Regions from separate parts of the Homo sapiens genome. Here all the other regions are linked to region 2. Evidence: promoter capture Hi-C in human tissues and cell types (Jung and others, 2019). All regions are on one chromosome and are shown on one strand. The core of a region is centred on a gene start or on the middle of the fragment in contact, and the rest is flanking DNA. Distances in the headings are between cores, read along the strand shown. Region 1 overlaps TOM1L2 (target of myb1 like 2 membrane trafficking protein). Region 2 holds the start of PEMT (phosphatidylethanolamine N-methyltransferase). Region 3 overlaps FLCN (folliculin). Region 4 overlaps MPRIP (myosin phosphatase Rho interacting protein). Region 5 overlaps COPS3 (COP9 signalosome subunit 3). Region 6 overlaps TOM1L2 (target of myb1 like 2 membrane trafficking protein). Region 7 has its middle 12 kb from the start of DRG2.

Region 1 (3,724 bases), core at 948-3,447, 310 kb before region 2:
GCCTTGGGCTTCTAAAGTGCTGGGATTACAGGCGTGAGCCAGAGCACCCAGCTGGGACTGTTTTAGACTCTGTTTTCCAGGCCTCACCTCAGACCTACACAATCAAGGCACAGCTTGTGGATTTGGGAATGGCACTACAGGTGACTCTGATGTGCAGCTCTCATGAGGAACCCCTGACCTGGGTCATTTACATGGCCATCTCTGGACCCTCCTCAGCTCATAGAATCTTTGTGTTCTATCTTCTAAGCTGGAGAGGGCACAGAGGAGGAACTGAAGACATGCAATAGAGCAAGATAATAATGGGGAGGGCATGTTCAGGGTGACAGAAGAGGGGCAGCCATGTCCTCCTTGGGGGTGATGAGGAGAAAGCTTTTCCAGAGAGTAGTCCTGAAGCTGAAGGACAAAGATACAAAGGCTGTGGCTGGAGGGATGACAGGAGGCTTGTTTGGGGATCAGGGAAGAGTTCTTATAAGTCTAGGGTCCAGGGAGACTTTGAGGAGCCTGATCATGGCCCAGAGGCCAAATCACGAGGCTGTGAGCACTGCCTGAGGAGCCTGACCTTTCCCCTGAAAGCTGCTAGGGCTTGATGCCATCTCAACACAGGCCACTGATTCTTCCTGATCCTTTCTTTCTGCTCCATCTTGGCTCTTGACACATGCTTCTGTCTCTTCTCCTGGTTTCCAACTCCACACTATCTAATCTGCTGCAGCTTCTTGAAACTTTGTGTTTCCTTTGACATGACTTTGATCCTCCTCTCTGAAGCTTTTCCCCCGGGGAGAGAGATAAATACTTGCTTTTGTGCTCACCCATCACTCTCGGCCAGTACTTCCCAGAGCCTATGGATGAATTTTCATTTTAAACCTCATCCAGGAAGCTGCTGACTGTCTGATTTCCCACCCCGTGGCCCCCACACCAGGAGAGCCCTGAGTGTGCTGGTCCTCTGCCAGCCAGAAATGATTGCAGCCCTCAGGCGCTCTTCCTATTTTCCTGTTCCATGGAAGTTCAAGAGGACAGAAGAGAGGACTGAGGGGTGTGGCAGCTGTGGGTCAGGGACAGCAGTGGTTTGGCAGAGCCTTGGAGAGAGGAAATCAGTCCATGCTGTTGGCCAGTAGCCACTGAATTTCATCAGCTCTCATGCCACAAACAGCCTTCAAAGCAGAGAGCCGGTTAAGTCCCATATTTGCAGAAATCAGCATCCCCTTTTGGAAATGGCAGCCGTACTGCAGACATACTTGGCCTTGGGCCCAGTCCCCATGGAGCCTTGTGTCTGTCTCATCAGCCCTTTGACCCAGGGGCCAAGAATTCCTACAGGGCAGCCATATGTCAAGCTGGGAATGGGAAACAGGTGATTCAGGGTGTTTTAAAATTTTCTTCTAGTAGCCTTGCTCCTTAAACTTTTTTTCTTTCTTTCTCTCTTTTTTTTTTTTTTTTTTGAGATGGAGTCTTACTCTGTCACCCAGGCTGGAGTGCAGTGGCATAATCTCAGCTCACTGCAACCTTCACATCTCAGGTTCAAGCAATTCTCTTGCCTCAGCCTCCAGAGTACCTGGGACTACAGGCACACATCACCATGCCCAGCTAATTTTTTTGTATTTTTAGTAGAGACAGGGTTTCACCATGTTGGCCAGGCTGGTCTTGAACTCCTGACCTCAAGTGATCCACCCATCTCGGCCTCCCAAAGTCCTGGGATTACAGGAATGAGCCATAATGCTGGACACACTTTCTCTTTTTTATTTTTATGGAGATGAAGTTTCACTCTTGTCGCCCAGGCTGGAGTACAATGGCGTGATCTCAGCTCACTGCAACCTCCGTCTCCCAGGTTCAAGCGATTCTCCTGCCTCAGCCTCCCGAGCAGCTAGGATTACAGGCAGCTGCCACCACACCCAGCTAATTTTTGTATATTTCAGTAAAGACGGGGTTTCACCATGTTGGCCAGGCTGGTCTCAAACTCCTGTCCTCAGGTTATCCACCTGCCTTGGTCTCCCAAAGTGCTGGGATTACAGACTGTGAGCCACCATGCCCGGCCCAGTTTCTCTTAAATTAAGCTGATTAGCAGAGCATCAACCCTTTCCCCTCCTCAACTTCCTCATACACATTTGAAGGGGCCTTTTCATTTGGTAGAGTATAAATGTTTTAAAACTGTAGGAATAGGAGATCCCTGACTTAACAAACGTGCAAGCTGGGAAAGACCAGTATATTGACACATAGATTAGTGGAAGGCTGGAACCCATGTGTGATTGCAAAGCGCTGGCCCACAGCCGGACTGAGGGCTCCCCAGAGCATAGGGTGATGGGTCAGGTCAGCACAGGGGCTTTGTGCCAGGGGCAGCTGCTAGGCCCACAGCTTTGTTGAATCCTGAGTTAGAATAAATTAAATTACATGTTAGACACAAGACCTACATGTAATATGTATACTTAGAGGGCTGCCTGGGAATCCTGACTCTAAGGTATAAGAGTAATTAAGGAAGAACTCACTCCAACTTCCAAACAGCTCCACTCCAACTTTTGGACAGAGCCCATTTGTGAACTGAGTACTGTCTATAATTCTGCAAGATTTTATCTGGGAATCCACCTCAGATCTGTCACCTAAAAACACAAAACTTGTTGGGTTTTAAGGAGACTCACTTAAGCTTTCTCTGGGAAAAGGAGTTCCATGGAATTCAGGAAGAGCCGGGCATCCAGGGCTCACAAGGACCTGGCACGCTCTCTTCTGTGTCTCTCATATGGTTTCTCTGGAAAAACTCTCTTCTATGTACCCACACACCAGTGGGTTAGTTAGGGTTTTGAATAAATAATACTTGCATGTGATACAGAATTCAAGAGGTCTGCAAAAAGGCAGTCCAGTGAAAAACCTCCCTCCGCCTTTGGTTCCCTTCCTTAGGGGCAGCCACAGTTACCAGGTTGTTATAGCTCTTTCTAGAGAGTCTCTTCCCTACGCTGGCACCTGTGCTATGTATGTTTGCTTTCCTTCTATAACTCAACTAATAGCAAGCTTTGTACACTGTTATGCAAAGAACTTTATGCACATGTCTTTGAGTTTGGTGTATATTGGTGCATGAGTTTCTTTATTCTTTTTTGCAGCTGCATAGTATTCCATTGTGTCAATGATTTAATTTAACCTGTTGTGTATTGATGGACATTCAGTTTGTTCCCAGTCTTTTACATTTACAAACATGCTGCAGCCAGCAAATAGTCTTGCATATATACTAGTTCACATATCTGTAGGATCGTGTCCTCAAGTGGGATTGTAAGTATCTTTATATGTCTGTTCTTTTTTCCAGGCCAAAGGATGCCATTCGAGCCCTGAAGAAGCGGCTCAACGGGAACCGGAACTACAGAGAGGTGATGCTGGCATTAACAGTGAGTGCTATTCTCCTTGAGGAGAGAAGTCATCTGGGGAACTCCTTGCTCCTGGCCTTGCCCCCCTCACAGGGCCTTCCCTCTGCCCACTTAGCACAACCTCTGAATGGCTTGGTGCCTGGGCCACTGGAGTCCAGCAAAGCCTTCTGGTATTGCCTTTGGGTTTTCCTGTCCTCTGAAACAGGGAGTGGTGAGCTTCAATTTGGTAAATGTATACGAGCAGAAGATAAGGTGTGTGCAGTGCTGTCAGGTACAGAAGCCCAGAGCAGAGGAGCTAAAGGTTTTGGGTGGGTCCCTTTTCTGTCACCAGCCTGCTCTGAGACTGAGACCAACTCCTTCTCTAGATATCAGTTTCCTCTTTGTAA
Region 2 (3,673 bases), core at 644-3,143:
AAAAATTTGTTTTCTGGGCTTAACAAAACAGGAGTGACCAGTTAGGTCAGAAGACTGGAACATCAGTGAAGTGGATGTGTGGTAGGCGGAGGGGAAAGACTTGCTAGAAGCCCTCCCGCTGCGGGGGGCTCCTTCAGAAATGGCTCTGCCTCTAGCAGCTCTGCCTGGACACTGAGCAGGGAAAGGGTCCCGACACTCATTAGTAACAGTGGTAAGTCAGAGAACCAGCCCTGAGCCTGTGTCCCCAGCCCTGCCGGGGGCCAATGCCTACTGAGCACTTCCCACAGGCCAGTTCCTGGGTGATGAGTTTTACCAACATGTATTTCCCTTTTACTTTTGAGGAAAATGAAGGTGGGCTCAGTCACAGAGATAGTGCATGCTCCAAAGCCAGTGTCTTTCCTGTCTCCTCGGTTGGCCTGCCCCATCCTAGCGATGTTGTGAAGATTGGGACTACCTCTAAAGCAGCACACAGTGGCTGCTCAGTAAATGCTCAACACTGGTAGGTGCTGTGGGCCAAGGTGGAGAGAAACGGGCCATCTGGAGCAGGAAGCAGCTGACTGCAGAAGTCCTGTCTGGGCCCCCAGCAGTCTGGGTGACTGAGCAAATCTTGGAACCTCTCAGTCTATTTCCCCATATTACATAACACCTGGCTACAAAAGGGCTTTTTTCTTTTTTGAGAGGGAGTCTCGCTCTGTCGCGCAGGCTGGCATGCAATGGCACCATCTCCGCTCACTGCAACCTCCACCTCCTGGGTTCAAGCGATTCTCCTGCCTCAGCCTCCTGAGTAGCTGGGATTACAGGTGCGCGCACCACACCCGGCTATTTTTTGTATTTTTAATAGAGACGGGGTTTCACCGTGTTAGTCACGCTGGTCTCGAACTGCCGACCTCTGGTGATCCGCCCACCTCGGCCTCCCAAAGTGCTGGGATTACAGGCATGAGCCACCACACCCGGCCTACAAAAGGGGTTCTTCTGGGACCCGATCGTCTAAACTCTTCTCCATTTGACCCCCTCCATCACTACTCCACAGCTCACCGGTCTTTTCTCTGTTCCTTAGGTGCCCGTCCTGTCTCCAGGCCTTTGTACATACCATTCGTCTTGCCTTGTTTGCCCTGCCCTCACACTTGGCACATCTGGCACCTCCCCTGCACATTCTAAGACAGCATCCTTCCGTACCATTTGACCCACCCCGTTTTTTCCACCACAGTACTCATCCATATTATAACCCTTTATTCACATTTTGTCTTTTATCTCAGTCAGGAGGAAGCGAGGGCGGGGGACTCTGTGTTGTTCCCTACCGTACCCTCAGCGCACAGTCTGGTTCAGAAAATACTCGAGAGTGAATGAGAGAATGAATGAAGGAAAAAATGAGTGGAGGAGGGGTCTTTGGCCGAGCTAAAGAGCCTGGGCGCCGCGGGGGCGGGAAGCTCTAGGCAGTGCTCGTCGCGCACCGCCCCCAGAGTAAAGCGAATTTCAGAAGAGGGCGTGGGGCCCTGGGCGTGTGGGGCCCTGGGCGTGTGTGACCCGGGCCAAGTCCAAGTCCGCAGGAGGCTGCGCGGGAAGCTGCTTATAGCTACGACCCGCGGCCCCCGGCCTCTAGCCCCACCGCCGCCAGGCAAGGGCAGGGACGCCAGGTCAGTTACAGGCTCGGGTGCGGCAGCCGGCGACCAAAGGCACTGGGCGGGAGGCCGGATCCAAGGGGATACTGCTACGTAGCTGCAGCGGAACCGGCAGGCTCTGCGGCGAAACACACTGGGACTTGTAGTTCTCGGCTCCTCTAGACGCTGTCGCGAGCCCCCAGATAAAGAGGCACTTCGCGGTGACGGGGAACTACATTTCCCAGAAGGCCGGAATATGTTGGGGGTCACCGGGAAAGCGCCCCGACTGGCGGCACTTACCCGGCTCTATAGGTCCGGTTCCGGGGGCGCGTGGCTGCAGCGGGGCCCGCGTGGTGCCTCCTGAGGCGGCCCCCGGATGAAGAGATCTGGGAACCCGGGAGCCGAGGTAACGAACAGCTCGGTGGCAGGGCCTGACTGCTGCGGAGGCCTCGGCAATATTGATTTTAGACAGGTACTGACCGCACCGGACCGCCGCGGAAACTGGGAGAGGGATCTGCAAGGCCCGAGGGGCGTGAAGGCTTGCGGCGCCTCAAACGCTGCGGGGCGGGGCCGCCAGTTCCCAGGCAATGGGGGCGTGGCGTGGCGGGGGTGGGGGAGCCGCGTGCGGGAGCGCCGGCTGGTGTCTGTGTGTGTGCGTGTGCGCGCGCGTGTAAACCTCAGATTGCGTGTGTCAGAGACGGGGGCGTTCCTGAGCTCGTCTGATTGTGTGCCTGTGTGTGGCCCTGAGATTGTGTGAGACTCAGAGGTTGTCCGTGTTAGTCTTTGGGATTGTGTCTCACTGAAATTATGTGATGCTCTGAGAGTGTGCCGGAGAGTGAGTGTGAGTGTGTATGACCGAGGCTGTGTGTGACTGAGCGTGGGCGAGGGTGAAGGAGGCCGATTATATGTTTGGGAGTGTGTTGTGTGGCCCCTGCTCCCGTCCATCCCCCAGGGTCAGGAGGCCAGCTTTTGCCCAGAGGCAAGAGAGTGGTGGGGACCCTGCCTGTCTCCCAGCCGGCCCTGGGCAGGCTGCAGACCACCACCCAGCCGTTTCGGGGCCATAATGGGTGCGACCGGCCCCAGAAGCTGGGGGCCTGGCTTGCCTGCTGAGGCTGCCCTCTGCAGAGTCCTAGGCCAGAGAGTGCCTGTCCTGGCATCTCCCCAGGCTCCCAATTCCAATGGATTCCAATTTCCAACCTCTCTTGCATTCTCCCTTCTATCAAAGCTTCCTCTTAGATGCTCCATTTACCTTTTTCATCACCCACTCTTCATGAAGCCTGTAAGGCACATCTCTGCCCCAAGCAGCTTCTAATCCAGTTCTTTCGCTCCCTTCATTCCTTACTCACATGTGCATTTATTCACTCACTGATCCAGCCAGTATTGATTCAGGGCCGGCTGAGGGCCTCGTGTCACTCAGAAGTTTAAGGGCACTTCTGTCACTGAGCTTTCATTCTAGGGAGGGAGATTGTAGGCCTGGAAAGCCAGAGAGTTCTCTGAAGGAGCTAATACCAGTTAGTGTTTTGAAGAGTAGCTGATGGGAAGGCGGGATTGAAATCCCAAGAGAGCCTGTTGCCGTATCTGCGAGGGAGGGACCTGGGATCTGAGAGCCGAAAGGTCAGTCAGTGGGGCAAGATTCCCCAGAGGAGGGAGGCAGTTGCGAAGCCCTCCAGGAGGCACAGGAGGAGATGGGCCGCTGGCCCTGAGGGAGCGCAGGACCGTTGGCCAGATGGGTGCTCAGCAGAGGACAGGAAGAAGACTATTACTTTAGTAAACTGTCCATTGAATTACAACATGCAGTCAGATGAGTGATGGGTCCTACCCCTACAGCTCCTGCATTTTCACCAGGTGAACCTGTATCTGTTAATCCTCAGATCAAGATGGGGGGTCATGATCACCTCCAGGGGCTGCCCTCAGAAGCCACCGTGTAGAAGGGTGGGTGGGGGAGCCATGTAGAAGGGGGGGCAGAATGCAAGGGGGCAGTGTCCCTTTGCAGACCCATCTAGGGGCCTGCCCCAGGGCCTGCCAGTGGGCAGGGGAGACTAACCGGGTGTGTGAGGGGTGGGCTTCTCTGCTCT
Region 3 (3,828 bases), core at 1,075-3,574, 380 kb after region 2:
CCAGAGTAGCTGGAACTACAGGTGCCCGCCACTATGCCCAGCTAATTTTTGTATTTTTTAGTAGAGACGGGGTTTCACCGTGTTGGCCGGGCTGGTCTCAAACTCCTGACCTCAGGTGATCCACCCACCTCAGCCTCCCAAAGTGCTGGGATTACAAGCGTGAGCCACTGTGCCTGGCCCTTTTTTTTTTTTTTTTTTTTTTTTTTAAAGAGATGGCATCTTGCTATGTCGTCCAGGCTGGTCTTGAACTCCTGAGTTCAAGCAGTCCTCCTGCTTCAACATACAGCTACAGGTACCCCCCACTATACATTTTTAATAAGGATTCATGGCTCAGAGGGATTTTCTGATGGTTTTGCTGATTTGTTTCTAGTTTTTTTGTGTTTATATTTAACATGAAGACCAAGTTTATATAACTAGGTATCTGTATAATGCAACAACATTGGAACACAATAAAGATGTATTTTTGTAAATTGTTACTACATGGTTTTATTGGTTTGATGCCTACTATTTATTTGCGCTCAGGCACAGGAAATACTATGGTTAAAAAATACCAGTGAGTCAGCCGGGCGCAGTGGCTCATGCCTGTAATCTCAGCACTTTGGGAGGCTGAGGCAGGCGGATCACGAGGTCAGGAGATCGACACCATCCTGGCTAATACGGTGAAACCCTGTCTGTACTAAAAATATAAAAAATTAGCCAGGCATGGTGACAGATGCCTGTAGTCCCAGCTACTCAGGAAGCTGAGGCAGGAGAATCACTTGAACCCGGGAGGCAGAGGTTGCAGTGAGCCAAGATCACACCACTGCACTCCAGCCTGGGCAACAGAGTGAGACTCCATCTCAAAAAACAAAACAAAATACCAGTGAGTGGCCAATTCGCACAGTTAAGCTGCTATAATGATCGTAGACAATCTTCTCCAAGTTAGTCGTTGGAGTTGGTGTTGGAGAGAAGCAAACACTCATTTATCCCAAGGACATCTGTTGAGTACCTATGCCCATGTGCTTTTCATTTTGTTCAGCATTAGAAATGGCTCATCCCTTAATAATGATGATATTTAAAAGACATGTCCATCTGAGAGGAAGATGGCTGGAATCACCCTGGGTGACCGTGGCAATCCCTAAAACAGCAGGTTCACGGTTTAGTCATCTACCTCGAGTGGGAGGGGACCCCCTGGCCAATGTGGGTCAAGGGAGAGATGACCACCCACTGTCCTCCCCGGCTTCGGGTACAGATTCCTGTCTTTCTCTCGTGCATGGCATTCCTGGGAACGTGGTTCTATGCTCAGTTTTTGCCAGTTGTCTGCCAGTCTAGTGGCTGAATCCACTTGGCAAGTAGGAGCCCAGTGTAAGTTAGCTCTGCATTCACTTCAGGGGCATGTGTGACCTGGATTTCCCATGTCTAACAGAGCTTGCTGGCGAGGGGGCAGGCAAGGCCCTATGCCGACTGGTGGTTTTGTTTTTGTTTTTGTTTTTTGAGACAGAGTCTTGCTCCGTTGCCAGGCTGTAGTGCAGTGGTGTGATCTCGGCTCACTGCAAGCTCCGACTCCCTGGTTCAAGCAATTCAGCCTCAGCCTCCCGAGTAACTGGGATTACAGGTACATGCCACCACACCCGGCTAATTTTTGTATTTTTAGTAGAGATGGGGTTTCATCATGTTGGCCAGACTGGTCTCGAACTCCTGACCTCGTGATCCGCCCGCCTCGGCCTCCTAAAGTGCTGGAATTAGAGGGGTGAGCCACCGCACCCAGCTGCCAACTGGTGTTTCTAGGCAGCTGTGGGCTTTTTCTCCCCACAGGCATGCAGTTCTTGAAGATTTTTCCTATTGGTCATGAGTGCAGAAGAGCAGGAGGCTGAGCTGAACCTATGCCAGCCCAAGACCAGGCCAGACTCTGCTGTCCTTGTGAGGGAATAGGGGTTCCTGATTTTGTAGCTTTTCACAAAATGGAAGAGACAGAAAACAAGTTCCAGATCTTGAACCTTCCCCATGTGTTTGAAGGCAGTCAAGGGTTTCCTGATTTTACATTCAAGATACTTACACTCAGGGCCGGGCATGGTGGCTCACGCCTGTAATCCCAGCACTTTGGGAGGCCGAGGCAGGAGGATCACCTGAGCCCAGGAGTTTGATACCAGCCTGGCCAACATGGTGAAACCCCGTCTCTACTAAAAATACAAAAAAAAAAATTAGCCAGGCTGGTGGTGTACGCCTGTAGTCCCAGCTACTCAGGAGGCTGAGGCAGGAGAATCACTTGAGCTCTTATATATTGTGGAAATTAACCCCTTATCTGATAATATAGTTTGTATAAGCTTTTAAAAAATAAATTGTATATATTTAAGGTATACGACATGATGTTAATGACATACACACACATATTAAAATGGTTATTATAGCCAGGCACTGTGGCTCACACCTGTAATCCCAGCACTTTGGGAGGCCAAGGTGGGCGGATCACCTGAGGTCAGGTGTTCGAGACCAGCCTGGCCAACATGGTGAACTCCCATCTCTACTAAAAGTACAAAAATTAGCTAGGCGTGGTGTCAGGCACCTGTAATCCCAGCTGCTCAGGAGGCTGAGGCAGGAGAATCGCTTGAACCAGGGAGGTGGAGGTTGCAGTGAGCTGAGATGGCCCCATGGCACTCCTGTCTGGGCAGCAAAGCGAGACTCTGTCTCAAAAAATAAAAAATAAACACAAACGGCCAGGCACGGTGGCTCACACCTGTAATCCCAGCACTTTGGGAGGCCAAGGTGGGCGGATCACCTGATGTGAGGTGTTCGAGACCAGCCTGGCCAACATGGTGAAACCCCGTCTCCACTAAACATACAAAAATTAGCCGGGCGTGGTGGTGGGTGCCTGTAATCCCAGCTACTCTGGAGGCTGAGGCAGGAGAATTGCTTGAATCTGGGAGACGGAGGTTGCCGTGAGCCAAGATCACGTCACTGCTGACAGAGCAAGACTCCATCTGAAAAATAAATGAATAAAAAACTAGGCCGGGCACGGTGGCTCACGCCTGTAATCCCAGCACTTTGGGAGGCCGAGGAGGGCAGATAGTGAGGTCAGGAGATCGAGACCATCCTGGCTAACATAGTGAAACCCCATCTCTACTAAAAATACGAAAAATTAGCTGGGCGTGGTGGCGGGCACCTGTAGTCCCAGCTACTTGGGAGGCTGAGGCAGGAGAATGGCGTGAACCTGGGAGGCAGAGCTTGCAAAGTGAGCTGAGATCGCACCACTGCACTCCAGCCTGGGCAACAGAGCAAGACTCCGTCTCAAATAAATAAATAAATAAATAAACTAATAACTAAATGTTGTAACACAAAAGAGGATAAATGCTTAAGGTGATGGATATCCTGTTTACCCTGATGTGATTATTACAAATTGCATGTCTGTACCAAAATATCTCATGTACCCGATAAATATATATACCTACTATATACCGACAAAGTTAAAAATAGAAACTGGAAGACAAAAAATAAATAAAAATCAAATAAAGCTTCTCATTTTGTTGTCTGCCTTTGGTAGATTTCCAGCCCTGAAGTGGCTGTTTTTGAAAACTGTTTTCCCCCAGTTTTATTTTTGTTTATCCCTCTCTGGAGGGATTTGAGTCCTTCTTTATACCTCCACAACTCCAAGTCCCTCCTCTCATTATCGTTTTAGATGAGGAAAGTGAAGCTCAGAAGAGATGAATCAATTTGCCCTAGACCATGCAGCTAGGAAGCCTGGGAGCCAGCACTAAACTCAAGTGTTCTTTTTCTTTGTTAAGAATTTTATTCGCCAGGCACGGTGGCTCACACCTGTAATTCCAGCACTTTGGGAGGCCGAGGCAGGCTGAT
Region 4 (3,806 bases), core at 1,090-3,589, 410 kb after region 2:
TGCTGCTGCAAGCTGGGGAAGGCGCGTGCTCAACTTGGATGGGACACACCTAGTCTTTCTTCAAGTCCCTGGATTCAAAGAGCTTCAACCGTTCTTGCACCGTCAGGCCTTCCTTCAGACTCTGGGTAGAGACAGAGCAGGAGGAGAAAATAAACACACCGTTAGACCCCCTGCACTGGACCGGACCGGACCAGACCGGACCGCTGGTGGAGCCGGCATCAGTCAGAGAGCCGGGTGCAGGTGCGGTTAGTGGGCATGCCAGGAGGAGAGTCCCCGGGAAATGCTGTTATTGGAGGATGTTTTCCCCTTCACAAAATTACTTGGATGAAAAAGGAAAAAAAAATCAGAGAGACAAGACCATGTGTTTAAGCAGCTAAATTCTGAGCTTAGGGCTCTTTAGAGAAGCAGTGATCAAACGAATCCAGCCAGGGAAAACAGTGCAATGAGCAAGGAGACTGCCCATCCCCGTGTCTTGTCTTGTGAATGGATTTGTCCACATCCAGCTCCAGAGATTCTTCACCTGACAGCCTCAGCTGAGGAGGACCAGATGCTCCAGGGAATCCCCAGCAGGATGGGTGTCCCGGGACAGGGCCTCGCTCCTACAGTGCCTCCGCAGCACCTGCTGCCCTCAGACCCATTTCTGGCATTCCCTCATCAGAGGCCTGTGAGTGTTATGGGGATGTGGGAACACGCCAACGTATCTAGTAAGATTTTCAAAACATAAAACCAATACTCTGTTCACGTGGAATCTTGCTAAAGCTTAAATCTGTATGTCCAGAGATGAATGAGATCTTACTAACTAGGGGACAGAGTATTTCCCATCTCATTCTTACAGACTTTCCTCAATGATTTAATTTCTGAATAAGAAAAGGAAGAGCACTTTTCAGAGAATGACTGGAAATGAAGGGCATTCCAGTACTGACTGGAAAGTGCTGTGGCTCTTCACTTATCTCCCTCTTCACGCTAAGTGTCGCCATCACACTCAGCCCTGCTGACTCCCTGTGGCTTACCCTTGCCAGAGCTGGTGCAGGTACAGGCTTTACTGAGAAACTGGAAGCTGAAGGGATGGGCTCTAGCTCAGGGTCTGCCTGATTCTACCAGTTTCAACCAAAAACCTGAGCAACGTGAAACTGCAGGCTGTACCCCATCTACTGGGAAGTCGCCAGCTTAGGCTCAGGCACACTCTGGCACTGTCCTGGAGACTCTGGTGTGATAGACTGGGGACTGAGCATGGGCTGGTCAGCTTGAGGCTCCCTCCAAAGCTCAAGGGAAGGGGGAGCTCCACTGTCCCCCACCCCACCCAGCTCTACCCAGAACAGACCTGCTTGTTTGCTATATTCTGGAGCTATGTGTCTGTGTAAATAAATAAACAATGTGATTTTTAAATACAGGGTTCTGCTGCTAAGCATTTTAAAACTCACTGGTCCAGGCCGGGCGCGGTGGCTCACGCCTGTAATCCCAGCACTTTGGGAGGCCGAGGCGGGCAGATCACGATGTCAGGAGATCGAGACCATCCTGGCTAACACAGTGAAACCCCGTCTCTACTAAAAAATACAAAAAATTAGCTGGGCGTGGTGGCAGGCGCCTGTAGTCCCAGCTACATGGGAGGCTGAGGCAGGAGAATGGCGTGAACCCGGGAGGCGGAGCTTGCAGTGAGCAGAGATCGCGCCACTGCACTCTAGCCTGGGCGACAGAGCGAGACTCCGTCTCAAAACAAACAAACAACCTCACTGGTCCAGGTGAGCCTCACCTCAAGCAGTTGTCACAGCTTGATAATTGTGTGTTTCTGAGAGGGTTTCTTTGGAAGCCTGCCACAGAGAGTGGCTGGGGGAATGGGGGGAAAATCCATCTCCCATTCTGAGCCCAGATGTACCTCAACACCCATGCCTGCTTCCAGGTGCCCTTGGGGGGTCCCTCCCCACAGAGTGCAGGGTTCTCACAGCAGTCAGTCTTGCAGAGGACCTGGGTAGACATCTGGTCACCATTGAAGGGGCTGGGGCCAAGCCAGGCAGGCAGCCCTGAGCCTAAGTGCTACTCAGAGGCAGGCCCCGGAGCATGGCTGGGGGATGTCACTGACATCCCGGTTCCTGCTTGTTGGGGACTTTCTGTCAGGACTGTAGTGAGTTTGATCACTCCTAAGGCCTGGGTTTGCTCCTTGCAGGCACTGCGTCAGAAGCCCCAGATTCCTGCTACAGCAGGCCCAGGGGAGGGGAGCGCCCTGACAGCCACAGCACCCAGCATGCTCGCTACTGGCTCCTGCCCCAGTGACAAAGGGCAGAGCTCAGGCTCAGGTGATGCTGGGCTTGCTACAATTCCAAGGGTGGGAAGTAAGTGAAATCCCCTACGTTATTCCCACACTGGCTGCAGGAGGCTGTTTCTCTCTCTACGTCCTCTGGATTCTCTCCCGGTGGCTGCTCAGCCCAAGGCTCAGCCAGCTCCCTCTGGGGTTCATCTCCCCCTAGGCTGTTGTCTCCACTGAGTGCCTCCTGTAGCCCCACATACTGAGCTGACCACAGACACGGGGGCCCCTTAAGAACCCCGAGGGAAGCATTCTCTGGTCTCAATCCCAGAAAAGGCTGTGCTGCTCCTAAGCAACTTGCTGTCTTTGATTTTGTAGCAGCTGAGACTTGCGGTCCTTTCGAGCGAGGCAGGACAGAAAAACAGAACAGAACAAAAGACACAGATCAGTGCACATCAGATGCCACATCAAAAAACACCACTGAGAAGTACGGTTTCTGGGCAACTGCATTTCCATCTTCTTGAAGGGTTGGGTGGAGTCTTCAGATACAGTTGAGGAAAAGGATGACACCCACCCATGCCTGTGCCTCCTAATGTCTCCTGGGAGCGCGAACACGGCCCCATCCTGCCCTGTTGCACCACAGACATCTAGGAAGTCCTCGACTTTCTGCTGGGGCCAGCAGGACTAGCCCTGCACTCCAAGGATTTTTATTACGGAAACCCAGCCAAGCCAAACATCAACTTAAAAACACATAAGGAGGAGGACCCCATCCTGGGGTTTCTCTCCATCCTTTTCAGTCTGCCCTGGGGCCCAGACAGTCTGCTCCCTCATCCCTGCTCTGGCTGGTTCCCAGCCACTGTGAGAGGCCCCCACCCACTCACTGCACAGAGTTACTGTCAGGGGCCCGTGGGTGTTGCACAGCCTCCCTGGAAGGGTCCTGTCAGTGACAGCCGGTCCCATGTCACTTATAGACATGGTCCAAAAGCCCAAATCACTAATAGTGAACTTCAAACTCCTTCAAGAAAAGCTCAAAGATACTAGCTACAGTTTAGCCTCAAATAAGTAGTAGAATCTTCAGTAAGAAAACCGTGAACCAAAAAAGAACAAGTTTCCTTTTGCTAAACAAAACGTTATGTTTAAAGAAAAATGCCCAAGCTAAGTTTTCAATCAAGCCTAAACCATATTTGGGTATAGGGGACTTAGAACTGTAGAAAAATAAAACCAAACTGACTAGGCTTAAAACCTTCAACTCTTTAACCAAGCCTCAGGATGAAGTCCTTCGGACGGCGGGGTGCTGTGGGTGTGCCTGAGAAAGGGCCAGCATGGGGAGGAAGACGTGGTTCTTGCTTTCCTCCATGTTCTCATTCCGGGATGAACGAGATCAAGCTACTGAGCCGGCAACTACTCATTCTCAGGGTGTCTCCCACCATGGGCCCTCCCCCACCTCCTCTCTGGCATAGGGCCTTCAATGGCACCTAGTGAGAAGCTTTTGTTTTATTAAAAAAAAAAATACTGGTAAATATTTCGCCCCTATTGCTTGTAGTTATCACGCTCTTCTGAACCATCT
Region 5 (3,759 bases), core at 1,152-3,651, 320 kb after region 2:
CCGGCTAATTTTTCTATTTTTTGTAGAGATGGGGTTTCACCCGATTGGTCAGGCTGGTCTTGAAATCCTGACCTCAGGTGATCCACCCGCCTTGGCCTCCCAAAGTGCTGGGATTATAGGCGTGAGCCACCGTGCCTGGCCAATTTTTGTATTTTTAGCAGACATGGGTTTTCACCATATTGGCTAGGCTGGTCTCGAACTCCTGACCTTGTGATCTGCCCATCTGCCCACCTTGGCCTTCCGTAGTGCTGGGATTACAGGCTTGAGCCACCATGCCCAGCCTATTTGGCTTCATTTAGTGGAATTTTTCATCTTGAAAGTTGTTCCTTATTAAACATATATATATATATAAAACATATATGTTTAATATATACATGTTTATTATTTAATATATATTATTAAACATATGTGTGTGTATGTGTGTATATATATATATATATAGATATATATAGATTTTTTTTTTGAGACAGTCTCGCTCTTGTTGCCCAGGCTGGAGTGCAGTGGCACCATCTCAGCTCACTGCAACCTCCACCTCCCGGGTTCAAGCAGTTCCTCAGCCTCCCGAGTAGCTGGGGTTACAGGCATGCATGCACCACCACGCCCGGCTAATTTTTTTGTATTTTTAGTAGAGACGAGGTTTTTCCATGTTGATCAGGCTGGTCTCGAACTCCCGACCTTAGGTGATCCTCCCGCCTTGGCCTCCCAAGGTGCTGGGATTACAGGCATGAGCCACTGCGCCAGGCCTAAACATATTTTTCTTAACCCTTATTTGTGTCCGTTCTGTATAGTGATTGTGCAAAATAACCAGGTCAGGAAAATCTCATGGATTCTAGTTCTTATTTATTTGTTTTTTGAGACTGGATCTTGCTCTGTCACCCAGGCTGGAGTGCAGTGGCATGATCATAGCTCACTGCAGCCTCAACCTTCTAGGCACAAGTGATCCTCCAGCCTCAGCCTCCCAAGTATCTGCAACTACAGGCATGTACCCCCACGCCTGGCTAATTTATTTTTTGTAGTAGAGACAGGGTCTCACCATGTTGCTCAGACTGGTCTCAAACTCCTGGCCTTAAGCAGTCCTCCTGCCTCAGCCTCCCAAAGTGCTTGGATTACGGGCATGAGCCACTGTCCTGGCCTAGTTCTTAATTCTAAAAAATACTGTTGCTCATTTAATTTTACAGAGTATTGGAGGCAGGATGGATTTCTTGCATACATTGTTTCTGTATTTTATCCCATGAACTATCAGGGTAATTTGATTCTTTTCTCCTTATTCTAGGTTTGTGAAGTTTTCTATGCCCAGTGTTCCTGACTTCGAAACGCTATTCTCACAGGTTCAGCTCTTCATCAGCACTTGTAATGGGGAGCACATTCGATATGCAACAGACACTTGTAAGCTAAATAACATTTTATTCTCCATTGAAAATATTTTGCCCTTGTGGTTATATTTATATTTTGAATATTTTGTTATTGTATCTAGTTGCTGGGCTTTGCCATCAGCTAACAAATGCACTTGTGGAAAGAAAACAGGTAAGAAATACTATTCAAGTATTCCTAGTTTTGTTATAATATGTAACTAGCTTACACAATGAATTACTTTATCAAGATTCCAGTTAGTACTGAGCATCCACCACCTAGATATCTGTGGTCACTTGAGAGCACTCACAGCCATTGCTGTAAGCTCAGGCAGTCCCCGCATCCCCTGAATGAGGTGGAGGCACGGGGTGGTTTGGCACCTCAGGGAGGCTGCTGCTGGAACTACCAAGTAGTTGGAATTACCAAGCCAGTACCCTTTATGTTGTAATATGCTGGGTTTTGTCTGTTACATTTTTTCTTTTAACTTTTAATTAGGACATTATTTTAGCCTTACAAAAAGCTTCAAAAATAATATAAAAAATTCTCATACATTTTACCTAGATTTTCCAAATGTTAACATTTTACCGCACTTATTCTTTTTTTTTTCTCTTCCTCTTTTATTCTGAGCCATTGTAGAGTAAGTTGCACATATGCTATTGCTGTTCTTTATCCCTAAATACTTCAGTGGGTAAAGCCTAAAAATTAGGACATTCTGTTACATAGTATAGTGTAATGGTCAGCATCCAGAAATGAACTCTTACTGTTTTTTTTTTTGGAGACAGAGTCTCGCTCTGATGCCTAGGCTGGAGTGCAGTGGCGCCATCTCTGGTCACTGCAACCTCCACCTCCCAGGTTCAAGCAATTCTTCTGCCTCAGCCTCCTGAGTAGCTGGGGACTACAGGTGCATGCTGCCACGCCCAGCTAATTTTTTGTATTTTAGTAGAGACGGGGTTTCACCATGTTGCCAGGCTGGTCTCGAACTCCTGAGCTCAGGCAATCCTCCCGCCTTGGCCTCCCAAAGTGCCAGGATTACAGGCGTGAGCCACCACGCCCGGCCCAGAAATGAACGTTAATATAATGCATCAACAAATTGACAGACCCCATTTAGATTTTCCCCCAGTGAAAAGGACTGTCTTTTGCTATAAAAGGACATTAGCTGTTTGGACAGTGTACTATATATTATATAGCAAAAGAAAACCGTGGACCATGGATTGCATTAGACTGCTTTGTTTCTTTAGTGTCCCTTAATCTGAACAGTTATTTCATTCTTTATCTTTTATAATACATAATTTATAATGTGGATTTTTAAAAAATTTATTTAGTTATTTATTTTTTTGAAATGGAGTCTCATTCTGTTGCCTAGGCTGGAGTGCAGTGGTGTGATCTCAGCTCACTGCAACCTCCACCTTCCAGCTTCAGGCGATTCTCGTGCCTCAGCCTCCTGAGTAGCTGGGACTACAGGCGCATGTCACCTTTCCCAGCTGATTTTTGTTTTGTTTTGTTTTTTGAGACAGAGTCTCGCTCTGTCACCCAGGCTGGAGTGCAATGGCGCAATCTCGGCTCACTGCAACTTCCGCCTCCTGGGTTCAAGCAGTTCTTCTGCCTCAGCCTCCCAAGTAGCTGGGATTACAGGTGCCTGACACCATGCCCGGCTAATTTTTGTATTTTTAGTAGAGACAGGGTTTCACCATGTTTGCCAGGCTGGTGTCAAACTCCTGACCACAGGCGATCCGCCTGCCTCGGCCTCCCAGTGATTTTTGTATTTTTAATAGAGGTGAGGTTTTGCCATGTTGGCCAGGCTAGCCTCTAGAACTCCTGACCTCTGGTGATCCGCCTGCTTCAGCCTCCCAAAGGGCTGAGATTACAGGTGTGAGCCACTTCACCCAGCCAGGTGTTTCTTTTTAATTTGAAAGTAAATTTAAGATTAGTGGTTTGAAAGAGGCTGAAAATAGAACCAGTTGTTATTTTGTAGTACTAAGTAACCATGTTTGAAAGAGATGGTTAAGAAAAATCATGAGTTTTTGAAAAAGCTGTAAGTTATTGAGCTATTTTTAGTCTCTTCACATATATATATATATATTTTTGTTGTTGTTGTTGTTGTTGTTGTTTTTTTGAGATGGGGTCTTGCTCTGTTGCCCAGGCTGGAGTGCAGTGGCGCGATCTCAGCTCACTGCAACCTCCGCCTCCCGGGTTCAAGCGATTCTCCTGCCTCAGCCTCCTGAGTAGCTGGGACCACAGGCACATCCCACCATGCCCGGCTAATTTTTGTATTTTTAGTAGACATGGGGTTTTGCCATGTTGGCCAGGATAATCTTGATCTCCTGACCTCATGATCCACCCATCTTGGCCTCCCAAAATGCTGGGATTACAGGTGTGAGCCACCGTGCCCAGCAATTTTGGAAGAGACTA
Region 6 (3,327 bases), core at 114-2,613, 340 kb before region 2:
CACCACGCCCAGGCTCTGACATTCTTGAATATCCCTATCAACCCCTCTCACCCACCCAAAGCCTGCTGCTCAAAGCAGCTCTAAGCAGAAGAGATGGAGAAACATTCAGACTGGGTGGAGCATGGCCCAGGCTGTGTTGCTGCCCACTTCTGTCTAGATGGGCAGTTCTTGACTTCCCCGCCTGACGCTGCTGAGCAGCCACAGTCCCGACTGCATTCTGGCTTGTACCCTTTACTATAGTGCCAGCCACAGAGAGCAGCCATGCAGCATTTTTAAGTAGCCAAGGAAAGGCCCGTTCTCACAGCAGTGCTTGGGGAATCTTCAGACTTGGTATTAGGAACCATAGCAATGAGACTTGTTACAAGCTTGCAAAACAAAATGGGATTTTTCTGTGTGGTCCAGCAAGGATCTAGACAGAAAGTCTGCTTGATTTTGTTTTGCCTTGCTGGCTTCATAAACCCACGTAGCAGAAGCACTTTGTGAATCAGAAATGGAAGCATTGTTCTCTGATACTGAGGAATGCCTTTCCTGAATGGCTACTGTGGGTGGGAATAGCTCTAAAGAAAAAAAAAATCCTGAGACACAGACAGCAGCTATTTATGTTCTATTCTGTTTGACACACATTATTGAATACCTACTGTGTGCTGGTAAAATTCATGGTGCATCAGGGAAGGCAGGTCCATGAGGAACCATTAGACAAGCAATAGGGGCTGGATGAGCCTCAGCAAGTGAGGACTGTGAGATCCCAGAAGAGTGCAATTAATTCATCTCGTGTGTGCATGCTCACGCGGGGGCCGTCTGGGGCCCTCACTGAGAGGAGGCAACGAGCTGAGTGTTAAAGGGAGGGTGTCGCCTTCTGTGTTCTCTTTTGACCCTTTCCATTATGTGAGCATGCATTTTTACCTTGTGGTGATTAGTATGCACATAATATTTTATCCTGCCTGTTTTCCTCTTAGCATTCCTATGCCGATTTCCACTTAGCGACTAGGCTGAAGTATTTATCATTTTAAAAAGCCACGTAGCGTTTTTGCCTTATTGATGTACCCTCGTTGCTTAGCCATCTTCTCGTTTGTTGGGAGCAGCAGTGTTTTTCTCAATTATGCATCTTTGCAGAATCAGCTCTCCCCTTCCCCCTTATTTATTTCCTTAGGGGGCTATTGCCGGGTCAAAGTTATGAATGGTTTTATGCTGTCTCCTACTGATTTTTTTTGTTGTTACAGAAAATTTCAGACATATACAAAAGGAAAAAGATGACTATAATGAACCCCCACATACTCATCATTGAGCTTCTACAATTATCAATTCATGGCAGTTTTGGTTCATCCATAGCCCCACACACTTTTATCCTGGATTATTTTTCAGTAAATCCCAGACATCATATAATTTCATCTATGAATACCTAAGTATGCATTTCTAAAAGATAAGGAATCTTTTTAAAAGTATAGCTGACTGGGTGTGGTGGTTCATGCCTGTAATCCCAACACTTTGGGAGGCCTGGGTAACATAGTGAAACCCTGGCTGTACCACGAATACAAAAATTAGCCAGGTGTGGTGGCACATGCCTGTAGTCCCAGCTACTCAGGAGGCTGAGGGTGGGAGGCTCACTTGAGCCTGGAAGGTTGAGGCTGCAGTGAGCCAAGATTGTGCCGCTGCATTCCCAGCCTGAGTGACTGAGTGAGATCCTGTCTCAAAAAAAAAAAAAAAAAGTATAGCCAACAGCTTATTATCATATCTAAAATAAATTAATCATAATCCTTAATATCATAAAATATCTAGTCATCCAACTGACAGTTTAAGATTCCCTAGTGTTTTCTGTGGCCATTCTCACGAGGCCAAATGTTTATTTGCTCCACCATGTTCTTCAGGGAATGTTTCCCTTGATGTATCACATTGAGGTTGAGTTCTTTATCAAGAAAGGTCTGCATGCAGGTCCTGGCCTCAGAAAGAGATGGAGGGAAAGAAGAAGGGATAAAGAGAGGCCTCTCTCCACAGCCTCTGCAGCTGGCCTCATGTGGTTTGCGCCACATAGGGTGGTAGGTTCTCTCTGCCCGTTACTCACATGGTAAACCCAGCTGTGCTGCTTTATCCACATACCAGCTTGACTTGGTACAGTGTGCTGAAAATAATGTCGGGCCTGTCCCTTTGGACTCCACCCCCATTGAAGAATGCAGTTTCATGCTGTTGGTTTTTTTAGTGCTAAAGAAACTAGATAGATACTGTGTTTATTTTTCTACAGTAAAAATCCGAAAAGCTAGGAAAATGCCTATTCCCTGTTGGATTTTGATCTTATTTGCATGTTTCCCTTGGCAAGCTTTGTTTCGTATTATTCAAGGTGACCCACTTAGAACTACTGTTTAAAGTCACATTGTCATTAATAAGTTACACAACCTGTGTGTGATAAGTCTGTTAGCCCTGAATATTGTATAAACAGGAATACATGCTTGTGTTGGGGCTCTTCTTCATATTTAAATATGGTTACATTTCTTTTTCTTTTTCTTTCTTCCTTTTTTTTGAGACAGAGTCCCTCTCTGTCGCCCAGACAGGAGTGCAGTGGTGTGATCCTTGCTCACTGCAACCTCTGCCTCCCAGGTTCAAGCGATTCTTGTGCCTCAACCTCTCAAGTAGCTGGGATTACAGGCGTGTGCTACCAGGCCCAGCTAATTTTTGTATATTTTGTAAAGATGGAGTTTCACCATGTTGGCTGGTCTTGAACTCCTGAGCTCAAGCAATCCGCCCGCCTCGGCCTCCAAAACTGCTGGGATTACAGGTGTAATCCATCACACCAGGCCCAAATATGGTTACATTTAAATGTAATCTTCCCTGTTTGTTCTCACTGTTGATATTCGTGACCTTTCTATGTTGATGAATAGGAGTAATTTCCCAGATGATCTAGAACCCTATTGTATTTGGCTTTGGAATGTGAAACACGTGTACATTTATGTCCGCATCTCCCCTTGTGCCAGTCCAGACTGGCTCTCAGTTTGGTCCTCCTTAACTAGCTGGGTACCCTGGGTGACCTCCTTTGGGACAAGGGAGAGTTAGCAGGGAGGCCTGGTCAGAATAAAATGCCTTTTGAGAGATATTGGGGTTACCAGGCTTTTATCCTTAAGTCTGTATGTTCAGACTAAGTAATGAAGCTTACTTATGTTTAGGCCAGCTTGAAAGCTTGTACCTAGCTTTTTTTTTTTTTTTTCTCCAAGAGACAGAGTTTTACTCTGTCCCCCAGGCTAGAATACAGTGGTATGATCACAACTCACTGCGGCCTCGACATCCTGTGCTCAAGTGATCCTCTCACCTCAGCCTGTGGAGTAGCTGGGACTACAGGTG
Region 7 (3,796 bases), core at 248-2,747, 480 kb before region 2:
CAAGAGATCCACCCGCCTTGGCCTCTCAAAGTGCTGGGATTATAGGCTTGAGCCACGGCACCTGGTCCTAAAGTGCTAGGATTATAGGCACGAGCTACTGCACATGGCCGAGACCGGGTTTTGCCATGTGACCCAGGATGGAAAAAGGAGCATTTTAATTCTAATTGATGCACACTTTATTGAAGCTGCAGTAACCTCAGACGTCTGGAGTTGGGGTAGTGTGTAGGGCTGTTTGTCCTTTTGAACCTAGTCGTGTCTTCTGTGATGAGTTAACATCTGAGGGTTTTAGAGAAAACTTCTGGGCTGAAATCCAGAAAACAAAGCCAGTAGACCTCCTAAATGCTGTCTTCATTCTTACAGGAAGCTTCAGGCCCCAGCCCTTATGGAACACGGTTAGGCAGAGACAATTGCACGGGGGCCCTCTCTAGGTGCATTGGAGGGATGATTGGCCTCAGGTGGCAGCAGGGAATGGCTCTGTGGTACACCCAGGGTGACCAGGCCCCAGAGTTCCTAGTCTTTTTGTTTGTTTGTTTGTTTTGGTTTTTTGAGACAGAGTCTTGCTCTGTCCCCCAGGCTGGAGTGCAGTGATCTCAGCTCACTGCAAGCTCTGCCTCCTAGGTTCACTTCATTCTCCTCCCTCAGCCTGCCGAGTAGCTGGGACTACAGGTGCCCACCACCACACCTGGCTAATTTTTTGTATTTTTAGTAGAGACGGAGTTTCACTGTGTTAGCCACGATGGTCTCGATCTCCTGACCTCGTGATCCGCCCACCTTGGCCTCCCAAAGTGTTGGGATTACAGGCATGAGCCACCGCGCCCGGCCAGGAGTTCCTAGTCTTGGGAAATGGCAAATATTCTTGGCCCCCAAGAGTGGTAGAAGTTGCCATTTAGATGGGAAAGGAAAGGGGTCTGGGCAAGGGGCCCTTGCATGGTAACTGGAGAGACTAAAGATGAGAAGGATCTCTCCAGAGCTTCAGCACCTACAGCCTGAGACACTGACACGAGGCCCTTTTGTGACCAGGTGAAGGGAGAGTCCCAATAAGAAACACTCAGGTGTCATTTTCTGCAACCTTGGCACGATGCAGGCTGTTAATCTGATTTGAGATAAGGAAAATAAAGTTAATGGAGTAAGATTCCTCCCCACTAAAGAGATGAGCAGCATGGGGTCCAGGAGCATGCATGGTGGACCCTAATACAGAGTGGATGGTGCAGGCAGAAACATCAGGAAAAATGTTCTGGGGAAGATGGTTCCCTTAGAGAGTAAGTCAGGCCAAGGTCAAAAAGTGGGAATGAGCAGGGCTGGGGGGATTTCCTGTGGGCTCTGCCTGGGGGCTCTGCAGGTCTGGCAGCATCTCCAGCAAGCCAGATGGATGCTGGACAGGTCACAGAGGACTGGTCACACCTGAGGTTCTCCTGAGGGGTCTGGATTTGATCTTGTGGGCAATAGGAACACTTTTAAGGTAAAGAGAGGTCTGACCAAATTTGAATGTGAAAGCTTCTCCCTTTCCAACTTTCTATTTTTATTTATTATTTTGTTGTTGTTGTTGAGACAGGGTCTCACTCTGTCACCCAGGCTGGAGTGCAGTGGTGTGATCTCAGCTCACTGCAACCTCCACCTCCTGGGCTCAAGAGGTCCTCCCGCCTCAGCCTCCCTGGTAGCTGTGACTACAGGCATGCACCACCATGCCTCGCTAATTTTTGTATTTTTTGTAGAGATGGGTTTTTGCCATGTTGCCCAGGCTGGTCTCCAACTTCTGGGCTCAAGTGATCCTCCCACCTTGGCCTCTCAAAGTGCTAGTATTATAGATGTGTGAGCCACCAAGTTCAGCCCCAATTTTCTAGAATTCTGATTCCATCCATCCTTTGAGCCCACCAAGATCTCCAATCCATTGGTGCTACCACCTTCATCCCCTTGAAGTCCTCTCTCCCTCCGTATCCAGCTTGAATTCCATGGTCTTCACTTACTTCACTCCCTTGCACACACAACAACTCCCTGACTCTTCACTCACCTGTACTTGCAAAACCACAGGCCTCTTCCTACTCTGCACCTGCACCTGGGTTGGGAACATCCCCATGCTTGCTTGGGGCATGCTTGACTTCCGCATCCATCCACTCTTCCTCTCCTGGACAACCATCTCGTGCCTTCTTTCTCCTCAAAGGCCCAATACCTCTCCCCCTATCCTCATCCTCAGGAGGGTTGTCTACCTTGCTCTCAAGCTCACTAAGAACCATTGAAGAAATGAGACAAGAACTTCCACAAACTTCCAACTTGCCAGCATTGGCATGGCTGCTTGTTCCCAGAAACAAACTCTCAGTGCTTCTACCTGAGCCATCCCTGTCCTACAGCTTGAACTTTGCATTCTGCTGTGTCATTTTCAACAGCATACAAATATGCTGTCACACCTCCCTTCGGAAAAGTAAGCAAAACTCCTTCTCTTGCTGGTCTGAATTTTCTAGTTTTGTACAATGCATCCCTACTGTTTCTGAATTAATGGATGGTTTTTAAAAATATTTTTGATTCAACTTTTTTTTAAGCATAATTTACTTGCAATAAAACACACCATTCTCCAGTGCATAATTCAATGAGTTCTGACAAATGCATAGGGCGATGCAGCCACCCCCACATTTGACACACAGAACATCTCTATCACTCCAGAAACCACCACCCCCCCGCACTCAGTCCTCACCCCAACTCAGCCCCAGGCTGCCACCCATCTGCTTTCTATCACTACCAGTTAGACTCATCTTTTCTACAACTTCATCTGAACGGAATCACACAGCATATCGTCTTCTGTGTCTAGATTCCTCTGCTCAGCATAATGTTTCCAGATTCATCTGTGTTGTATCGCTATAGTACATTTCTTTTTATAAGAAATGCTGAGAGGTGTTTCATTATATAGCTGTACTATAATTTATAATAAATGGTTACCTAGAAATTCATTAAAATTTGGCAATGGTTCCTTGGATATGACACCAAAAGTACAGGCAACAAAATGAAAAAAAAAATAGATAAATGGGATTATATCAAAAAGAAAAACTTTTGCCAGGCGCGGTGGCTCACGCCTGTAATCCTAACACTTTGGGAGGCTGAGGTGGGCGGATCACGAGGTCAGGAGATCGAGACCGTCCTGGCTAACACGGTGAAACCCCGTCTCTACTAAAAATACAAAAAAAAAAAAAATTACCCAGGAGTGGTGGAGGGCGCCTGTAGTCCCAGCTACTGGGAGGCTGAAGCAGGAGAATGGTGTGAACCCAGGAGGCAGAGCTTGCAGTGAGCTGAGATAGCACTGCACTCCAGCCTGGGCGACCGAGCGAGACTCCGTCTCAAAAAAAAAAAAAAAAAAAAAAAAAACTTTTGTGCATCATTAAGGCACTATCAAGAGCATGAAGAGGCCGCCGGGCACGGTGGCTCGTGCCTGTAATCCCAGCACTTTGGGAGGCTGAGGTGGGCAAATTGCGAGATCAGGAGTTCGAGACCAGCCTGGCCAACATGGTGAAACCCCATCTCTACTAAAAATACAAAAAGTAGCTGGGCGTAGTGGCAGGCATCTGTAATCCCAGCTACTCGGGAGGGTGAAGCAAGAGAATCACTTGAACTTGAGAGGCAGAAGTTGCAGTGAGCCAAGATCGTGCCACTGCACTCCAGCCCGGGCGACAGAGTGAGACTCTGTCTCAAAAAAAAAAAAAAAAAAGAGATGGTAAAGAGACCCCACAGAATAATAGGAGAAAATATTTGCAAAGCATGTATCTGATAAGGAATTAATATCTAGAAAATATAGAGAACACCTACAATTCAG

The links. The method cuts DNA at HindIII sites, captures the fragments that hold promoters and counts their contacts. A contact is called where the count stands out against the background at its distance.
Region 1: a contact is called between a fragment that was not itself captured here and the fragment with the promoter of PEMT in region 2, in 1 of the 25 tissues and cell types used here (dorsolateral prefrontal cortex).
Region 3: a fragment that was not itself captured here is called in contact with the fragment with the promoter of PEMT in region 2 in 2 of the 25 tissues and cell types used here (dorsolateral prefrontal cortex and pancreas).
Region 4: a contact is called between a fragment that was not itself captured here and the fragment with the promoter of PEMT in region 2, in 1 of the 25 tissues and cell types used here (dorsolateral prefrontal cortex).
Region 5: a contact is called between a fragment that was not itself captured here and the fragment with the promoter of PEMT in region 2, in 1 of the 25 tissues and cell types used here (dorsolateral prefrontal cortex).
Region 6: a contact is called between a fragment that was not itself captured here and the fragment with the promoter of PEMT in region 2, in 2 of the 25 tissues and cell types used here (dorsolateral prefrontal cortex and neural progenitor cells).
Region 7: a contact is called between a fragment that was not itself captured here and the fragment with the promoter of PEMT in region 2, in 1 of the 25 tissues and cell types used here (hippocampus).

The regions. Positions count from the first base shown.
Region 1 is chr17:17,898,231-17,901,954 of GRCh38, reverse strand. It overlaps TOM1L2 (target of myb1 like 2 membrane trafficking protein), which reads left to right. Exons shown (of 15, transcript NM_001082968.2): 3 at 3,281-3,359. Among named protein-coding and RNA genes, the nearest start is that of SREBF1, 63 kb to the right of the region's middle. The HindIII fragment of the contact is 3,262 bases long and covers 567-3,724 here.
Region 2 is chr17:17,589,928-17,593,600 of GRCh38, reverse strand. It overlaps PEMT (phosphatidylethanolamine N-methyltransferase), which reads left to right and starts at 1,893. Exons shown (of 7, transcript NM_148172.3): 1 at 1,893-2,070. The coding sequence starts at 1,975. RefSeq lists enhancers at 1,752-2,141, 1,707-2,448. The HindIII fragment of the contact is 9,919 bases long and covers 1-3,308 here.
Region 3 is chr17:17,208,854-17,212,681 of GRCh38, reverse strand. FLCN (folliculin) reads left to right here. Exons shown (of 14, transcript NM_144997.7): 14 at 1-470. Among named protein-coding and RNA genes, the nearest start is that of PLD6, 4.4 kb to the right of the region's middle. The HindIII fragment of the contact is 3,855 bases long and covers 397-3,828 here.
Region 4 is chr17:17,181,138-17,184,943 of GRCh38, reverse strand. MPRIP (myosin phosphatase Rho interacting protein) reads right to left here. Exons shown (of 24, transcript NM_001364716.4): 24 at 1-121. The coding sequence ends at 50. Among named protein-coding and RNA genes, the nearest start is that of PLD6, 23 kb to the left of the region's middle. RefSeq lists an enhancer at 1-143. The HindIII fragment of the contact is 4,078 bases long and covers 301-3,806 here.
Region 5 is chr17:17,268,523-17,272,281 of GRCh38, reverse strand. It overlaps COPS3 (COP9 signalosome subunit 3), which reads left to right. Exons shown (of 12, transcript NM_003653.4): 3 at 1,274-1,386; 4 at 1,475-1,524. Among named protein-coding and RNA genes, the nearest start is that of COPS3, 11 kb to the left of the region's middle. The HindIII fragment of the contact is 3,862 bases long and covers 471-3,759 here.
Region 6 is chr17:17,926,043-17,929,369 of GRCh38, reverse strand. The region is part of intron 1 of TOM1L2 (target of myb1 like 2 membrane trafficking protein); the gene reads left to right. Among named protein-coding and RNA genes, the nearest start is that of TOM1L2, 45 kb to the left of the region's middle. The HindIII fragment of the contact is 3,577 bases long and covers 1-3,151 here.
Region 7 is chr17:18,073,629-18,077,424 of GRCh38, reverse strand. No RefSeq gene overlaps it. Among named protein-coding and RNA genes, the nearest start is that of DRG2, 12 kb to the left of the region's middle. The HindIII fragment of the contact is 4,809 bases long and covers 1-3,796 here.